Regions from separate parts of the Homo sapiens genome. Here regions 2 and 3 are each linked to region 1. Evidence: promoter capture Hi-C in human tissues and cell types (Jung and others, 2019). All regions are on one chromosome and are shown on one strand. The core of a region is centred on a gene start or on the middle of the fragment in contact, and the rest is flanking DNA. Distances in the headings are between cores, read along the strand shown.

Evidence for each region. Contacts are between HindIII fragments. The study calls those that stand out against the background at their distance.
Region 2: a fragment that was not itself captured here is called in contact with the fragment with the promoter of IGF1 in region 1 in 1 of the 25 tissues and cell types used here (H1 embryonic stem cells).
Region 3: a fragment that was not itself captured here is called in contact with the fragment with the promoter of IGF1 in region 1 in 1 of the 25 tissues and cell types used here (liver).

What each region holds. Positions count from the first base shown.
Region 1 is chr12:102,479,298-102,481,833 of GRCh38, reverse strand. IGF1 (insulin like growth factor 1) reads left to right here and starts at 1,271. Exons shown (of 4, transcript NM_000618.5): 1 at 1,271-1,515. The coding sequence starts at 1,453. It overlaps LINC02456 (long intergenic non-protein coding RNA 2456), which reads right to left. Exons shown (of 13, transcript XR_007063427.1): 11 at 1-2,536. RefSeq lists an enhancer at 2,416-2,465. The HindIII fragment of the contact is 12,796 bases long and covers 1-2,536 here.
Region 2 is chr12:102,716,449-102,718,984 of GRCh38, reverse strand. No RefSeq gene overlaps it. Among named protein-coding and RNA genes, the nearest start is that of LINC00485, 110 kb to the left of the region's middle. The HindIII fragment of the contact is 4,641 bases long and covers 1-2,536 here.
Region 3 is chr12:102,322,459-102,324,994 of GRCh38, reverse strand. The region is part of intron 5 of LINC02456 (long intergenic non-protein coding RNA 2456); the gene reads right to left. Among named protein-coding and RNA genes, the nearest start is that of LINC02456, 44 kb to the right of the region's middle. RefSeq lists an enhancer at 2,037-2,536. The HindIII fragment of the contact is 4,745 bases long and covers 1-2,536 here.

The DNA.
Region 1 (2,536 bases), core at 22-2,521:
AACTGTGTTTTCAGTTGATGTGTCAGTCCCCTGAGAGTCATGTGGAAAAAAAAAAAAAGAAAAAATTCAAGGTCCAGGTTATTTCCACCACTCCTGGGAAACCAGGCCTGGAGAGCTCTCTAGGGAAAGAGGTATGTCTGCTCTGGGCTTTTGCAACCTTATTTTATAATTCACTTTCTTATCTACTGCTTCACAAAACCAAAGGGAAATAGGTACAAACTGTATCGACAAAAGATCAGAACTGAATTCTCAATGGCAAAGGCAAGTGTACATTATAAATAGCAAAACAGCTGGCTTGGACCATGTTGCCGGCCAGTCACCCAGTTGAGGGATTTGAATGACATCATAACCCTCGAGAGGGTATTGCTAGCCAGCTGGTGTTATTTAGAATACACAAAAATCAGAGAAAGAAAACACACTCTGGCACACAGACTCCCTCTGTCATACACACACACACACACACACACACACACACACACACACACAGGTTTGAGTTATATGGAAAATTCAAACAACAGGAAAATTGTTTGCCCCCCAGGTACCCTTCTCCCAGAGTGGTGGGGTGGGGAGGGGACAGTGACAGGCAGCCTAGTAGAAGAATAAAGAAAAATGTTCTATTTCAGTTGGGTTTTACAGCTCGGCATAGTCTTTGCCTCATCGCAGGAGAAAAAGTATGAGACAGTGCCCTAAAGGGACCAATCCAATGCTGCCTGCCCCTCCATAGGTTCTAGGAAATGAGATCACACCTCTCACTTGGCAACTGGGACAAGGGGTCACCCGAGTGCTGTCTTCCAATCTACTTTACCCCAGTCACTTCAGGGTTAAAATTGTAGAGTTTGCTGGAGAGGGTCTTATCGTCCTTTCTTTCTTTTTTTGTTTTAAATAATGCATTTGCTCTAGAATCTAAAATTGCTCTCCCATCCCCCATATTCCTTTAATACTGGTAAGGTGTATTAGCAGACGTTTGTGTCTTCATGCCCAGCAGAAAGTTAATCAGAAAACAGATCCTTATTTTCTATGGCAGCATAAGTATTTTAATGTCTGCGAACCCTGTCACTAACACACATTCTTTTAAGGGAAAAAAATGCTTCTGTGCTCTAGTTTTAAAATGCAAAGGTATGATGTTATTTGTCACCATGCCCAAAAAAGTCCTTACTCAATAACTTTGCCAGAAGAGGGAGAGAGAGAGAAGGCAAATGTTCCCCCAGCTGTTTCCTGTCTACAGTGTCTGTGTTTTGTAGATAAATGTGAGGATTTTCTCTAAATCCCTCTTCTGTTTGCTAAATCTCACTGTCACTGCTAAATTCAGAGCAGATAGAGCCTGCGCAATGGAATAAAGTCCTCAAAATTGAAATGTGACATTGCTCTCAACATCTCCCATCTCTCTGGATTTCTTTTTGCTTCATTATTCCTGCTAACCAATTCATTTTCAGACTTTGTACTTCAGAAGCAATGGGAAAAATCAGCAGTCTTCCAACCCAATTATTTAAGTGCTGCTTTTGTGATTTCTTGAAGGTAAATATTTCTTACTCTTTGAAGTCATTGGGGAATTCTATTTAAATTGTGTACTGTTTGCTTCTGCCTAGAACTGTTCTTCACTTTAAAATTTTCATTGTTTCGGAACCGAGAGTTATTTATAAATTGCTGAATATGCAATTCTGTGGAATCTGAAAAATAGCTCGGGGAGATGGATGCATTTGCACAGATATCTGTATGAGTAGAAACTATTGCAAGGTACTTATGCTAAATCCTCCACTTCTGCAGGGCTTCCGTGGTGTCATTACAGAAGATTCCTTTAAATCCTCTCTATGGCTAAGGGCTATAGAGCATGGATATGAACTTGGGGATTTTTTTTTTCTTTTGCAGGTGCAGATGTTTTATTTTTAAGACCATGTTCTTTTGCATGTGTGTATGTGTCTCTGTGTGTATGTGTCTCTGTGTGTGTAACTCATCAGGACTTTATTTACAAGGCATGCTATATATGAAGGGTTGTATTTTAGATGATATTAAAGCTTTTAAATATGATCTTTGGAGCTAAGGTCCCGGAACTCTGCACTTATGCCCAGAGAGAGTGTTAAAGTTAGAGTAAAGTGTAATTTGTTCTTCCAAAAAAGAACTCCTTGACAACTCTTGCTGACCTTGCATATTTGTATAATTTAAACAAATACATACTGTATATGGAAAGCAGAAACTTTCTAAGAGCTGCTTGCCCAACTTTTCTGTTTAGAAGAGGACTTTCATGGGCAAAGTTTGGACTTGGGGTTCTGTGTTATAAAACTCTGATTTTATATTCAGTGTCGTGAAGTCCCTTTAGGTAAATCTGGCTGCTGCTGTCAGTGCACCGACTTCTCGTTTCCGATTGCTGGCCGTAGTTCTAGTTTCCATTCTCAGCAAAATTATATCCTTCAAGACTTGTGTTTTTTTTTCAATTTGCAAGCGCTTTTAAGCTGCTGTCACTGGCTCCACCGATTCAATTGCCTGAGGGCTCAATTCATAAGACGTCTCTGCCACTTAGTGCAGCATTCAGTTGCTGCTT
Region 2 (2,536 bases), core at 22-2,521, 240 kb before region 1:
TTAGAGATTATTGAGTCACACGTGCATTCCTAATCCAACCTCTGAAAGCTTCCAGGGAAAAGCAAATTGTGACTGAGGATGTGTCCAGGAACCCTACGGTGTCTGCCATGAATACTAATATGGTCAAAGCCTAGGTGGATGAATGTCCAAAGATGGCATAAGAAAAACAATCTTGTATCCTTCATTTTATAACAAGAAAAAAGACTAAGGACCATGTATGAAGAATAATGATTAAAATATGGATAATGCAACAATAGCTATCAGTAACTAATATTTGTGTGGGACTTACTATACTCCAGGTACTATTAAAAACACTTAGATAATAATCATTATATGAGAAATTTAAACTACAATAAGAAACAAAGAAGGTCATTATATAGTGATAAAGGGGTGTATTAGTCTGTTTTGCATTGCTAAAAAAGAATAACTGAGATTGGGTAAATTATAAAGAAAAGAGGTTTATTTGGCTCTACAGGCTGCCCAAGAAGCATGGCACCAGCAAAGAAGGCTTCTGTTGAGGGCCTCAAGAAATTTTAATCATGGCAGAAGGCAGAAGGGAGCAAGTGTGTCACATAGCAAGGGAGGGAGCAAGAGAGAAGGGGGAGGTGCCATGCTCTTTTTAACAACAAGCTCCTATATGAACTAATAGAGCAAGAACTCACTTATTACTACAAGGACAGCACCAAACCATTCATAAGGTATCCACCTCCATGTCCCAAACATCTCACTGGGCCCCGTCGCTAACATTGGAGATCAGTTTTGGACTATATCAAGGGGCTAATTTATCAAGAGGATATAATAATTGTAAATACATATGTACCCAACATAGGAGCACCTAAACATATAAAGCAAATATTAATAGACATGAAAGGAGAGCAGATTGTAATACAATAATAGTAGAAGACTTCAATACCTCACTTTCAGCAATTGGCAGATCATCCGGACAAAATATTAATAATGAAATATTGGACTTGAACTATATTTCAGACCAAATAAACCTTACAGTCAGATACATGACATTCCATTTAACAGAGACAGAATACACACTCTTCTCAAATGCACATGAAACATTCTCCAGGATAGATCATATATTAGTCCACAAAACAAGTCTTAACAAATTTAAGATGATTGAAATTATATTGAGTACCTTTTACGACCATAATGGTATGAAACTAGAAATCAAGAACAGGAGGAACTTCAGAAAATCTACAAATATATGGATATTAAACAGCATGCTCCTGAACAACCCATGAGTTGAAGAATAAATTAAAAGGGAAATTTGAAAAATATCCTGAGACAAATGAAAATGGAAACACAACATACCAAAACTTACGGGATGCAACATAAGCAGTTCTAAGAGCAAAGTTTATAGCAATAAATCCCCACATCAACACAAAAGAAAGTCCCCCCAAAAAACCTAATGGTATACCTCAAGAAACTAGAAAAAGAAGAACAAACTAAGCCTAAAGTAAGTAGAAAGAAGGAAATAATAAGATCAGAGTAGAAATAAATAATAGAGACTAGAAAAGCAATAGAAAAGATCAACAAGACTAAGAGTTGGTTTTCTGAAAGATAAACAAAATTGGTAAAACTTTAGCTAGATTAACAAAAATGAGAGAACTCAAATAAAATCAGAAATCAAAAAGGAGACATTACAATGGATATCACAGAAATGCAAAGGATCATGAGACTATCATGAATAATTATACATTGACAAATTGAATAACCTAGAGAAAAATGAATAAATTCCTGGATATACACAACCTACCAAAAATTAATAATGAAGAAATAGAAGAAAATCTGAACAGATCAATAATGAGTAAGAAGACTGAATCAGTAATAAGTTTTCCATCAAAGAAAAGCCTAGTACTTGATGGCTTCACTGTTGCATTCCACAAAACTTTTAGAGAAGAATGAATACCAATCCACCTCAAAATTCTTCCAAAAATTTGAAGAGGGAATATGTCCAACCTCATTTTACAAGGCCAACATTACCCTGATACTAAAACCAGATGAGGACACTACAAGAAAAAAAAAAATACAGGCCTATGTCCCTGATGAATATAGATAATAGTAAACTGAAATCCACAGCATATTAAAAGGACCATTCACCATAATCAAGTTGAATTTTTCCGAGGGGTGCAAGGATGATTCAACATACACAGACCTATAAATGTGATATACACCACATTAATAGAATAAAGGACAAAAACATATGATAATCTCAATAGATACAGGAAAAGCATTTGACAAAATTCAACATCTTTCATGATAAAAATTCTTACCAAATTAGGTATAGAAGTACAATAAAGGCAATACAACAAACTTGTAGCTAACATCATATTCAATGGTGAAAAGTTGAATACATTCAATGCAACCAAAATTCCAATGATGTTTTCATAGAAATAGAAAAACATTTCTAAAATTTGTCTGGAACCACAAAAGATCCCAAATAAACACGGCAACCTTGATAAACAAGAATAAAGCTGGAGGCATCACAGTACCTGACTTCAAAATATACTACAAAGCTATAGCA
Region 3 (2,536 bases), core at 21-2,520, 160 kb after region 1:
TTGTGCACATGTACCCTAAAACTTAAAGTATAATAATAATAAAATAAAATAAAATAAAAAAACAAAAAAACAAAAAAAAAAGAATCAAAACTTAAAAAAAAAAAAAAAGGCTCTTACCAGATGCAGCTGCTGAACTCTGGACCTCTCATCTCCCATAACTGTAGGAAATAAATTCCTTTTCTTTATAAATTAGCCAGTTTCAAGTATTCTGTTATAGCAAGAGAAAACAAACTGAGACACCTTTCTTATTGCCAACTACTCCCTTTTAGCTTGTTATACTCTAGCCACCCTGAACTGGTTAGTGAGGAATTATTTAAAGCCCTCAAATGTGACATTGGTCTCCTTTGCATATACAGATGGCTTATGCCAAGAAAATTCTCCTAAACCAGAAGGTGAATAGAAACTAGTTTAGAGAAATGCAATAACAGTCAAATTTAAATTATCCTCAAGGGGGAGTAGCATAGGAGATGTCTTGATAGTATGACAGACAGCACTGGAATTAAATTGAATGCAATGAATTGAGTGAAGAGGGATGATAAAGTGTGAGGAACCCTGCTCAACACCTTCCTTTTAGTATCCTATCTCATTTAATCCATTTAATCATTTAATAATTTAATCTATGGCTGGTAGGTATGATTAACCTCGTTTTACAAATAAGGAAACTGGGACTCAAAAGGGCAAGTAAGGGACTGAAGCTTTACTGTATTTTAACTAAATGAACCTTTGAGTTAATAGGATTGGTGATGGGGATGGGAGGGTTTCTGCTCCAAACAAATTAATCTTCTCATTGCTTTCATCATCCTGCCCCACCCAAACATGTATTCTACTTTTTCATTTCTGTGCCTTTGCTTCTTTCCTCCCTGAAATGTCCTTCCCACTGCCGTCTCTGCTAATCTAAACCTCAGATCCCAGCTCCAATTCCATTTCTTCTGAGAAGGCTTATCAGATTGTTCTGTGCACAGAGAATATACCCTTGCTGAACTTCCATGGCCTTTTTTTCTATGTTTTGCTCACATGACACTTGTCATATTTTAGCTATTTGTCATATTTTAGCTATCTTTCCAAGTGTGTGTCTTTTCTTTCCAACTAGCTTATAAGCAGCCCAAGACCAGGTACAGTACTTGATCTTGATTTTAGCAGCCCCTGTGTTTCCCATCATTCTTTTTTTTTTCAGAGCAGGAGTGAAAGTTTATTTAAAAGCTTTAGAACAGTAAGGAAAGGAAGGAAAAGTAAAGTAAAGTACAACTTGCGGGAGGGCCAAGTGGGCAACTTGAGAAACCAAGTGCACTTCTTGAGAAACCAATTGGGCCTCATCATTATTTATTTTGTTTTATTTTTATTTTGAGACAGAATCTCACTCTGTCACCCAGGCGTGCAATGGCACAATCGCGGCTCACTGCAACCTCTGCTTCCTGGGTTCTAGTGATTCTCATGCCTGTCTCCCCAGTAGCTGGGACTACAGGCACCTGGCTAGTTTTTGTGTTTTTAGTAGAGACAGGGTTTCCATGTTACTCAAGGTGGTCTGGAACTCCTGGGCTCAGGTGATCCACCCACCTCAGCCTCCCAAAGTACTGGGATTACAGGCATGAGCCACATGCCCGGCACACCCCATCATTCTTAAAGATAATTCTGAGCACCCAGTATAATACCAACATATAATACACATTTAGGGAGAAAGGAGTGAACAGTTTTTAGAAGAAACATTTCAAAACATTTCAGAACACGTCTACTGAAGAAACATTTCAAAACATGTAGAAATGTTAGATGTTGTGGGAAGATCAATAAGTGTCTTGTACATGTATATGTCCTATGATTCTGTAGTATTGCTAGGTTCTCATTTGCCATAGAAAAAGTAAATCTATTTACTAAAATTATTAACTAAATAAAATTAAGAAATAACTAAATTCTTCTATAAGAGTTTTCAATAGCAACAGCTGAAACAAACACACAAAAAGGACAAATCACCATAACCTGAGTTAACTGGATTATCCTATTTTGTACATAAGCTTCCCTTACATGGCTTCATTTTTCCTTGAAAGAGAATGTACCTTTCTAAAAAGGTGTTGAGAGTCAAAGGGCATTCGCCTGGGACCCAACAAGCTACTTGGATGGCCCTGTTTTCCAACCACAAGCCATAGAAAGAGTGATAGAGTTGAGGAAGGTAGTCAGAAACAGTCAAAATCTCAACTGAGTGAGAAAAATAAACTTAAAGAAAACCCAGGCCAAACAAACAGCTTCACTGAATGACCCACTCCTTCAAGGGAATTGCCCATTCTTTAGAATCATAAATCCTTTTTCTTTCTTTCCTTTGTCATGTTACATGATTAAGTCTTCTAGTTAACAAGAAAAACATCCAACTTACTTATGTTCAATAAATTCCCATGAAAAGGACAAAAACTGGAAATGTTTTCAAGCTGAGAAGCATTAAAAAAAAAAATCAAAAGCATCCATCAAACCATTCTGAACCAAATTAAGGCATTTAGCACCATCTTGGCAACCTGAGCCATATGCCCTACCCTGTCCACCCAGCAAGGAC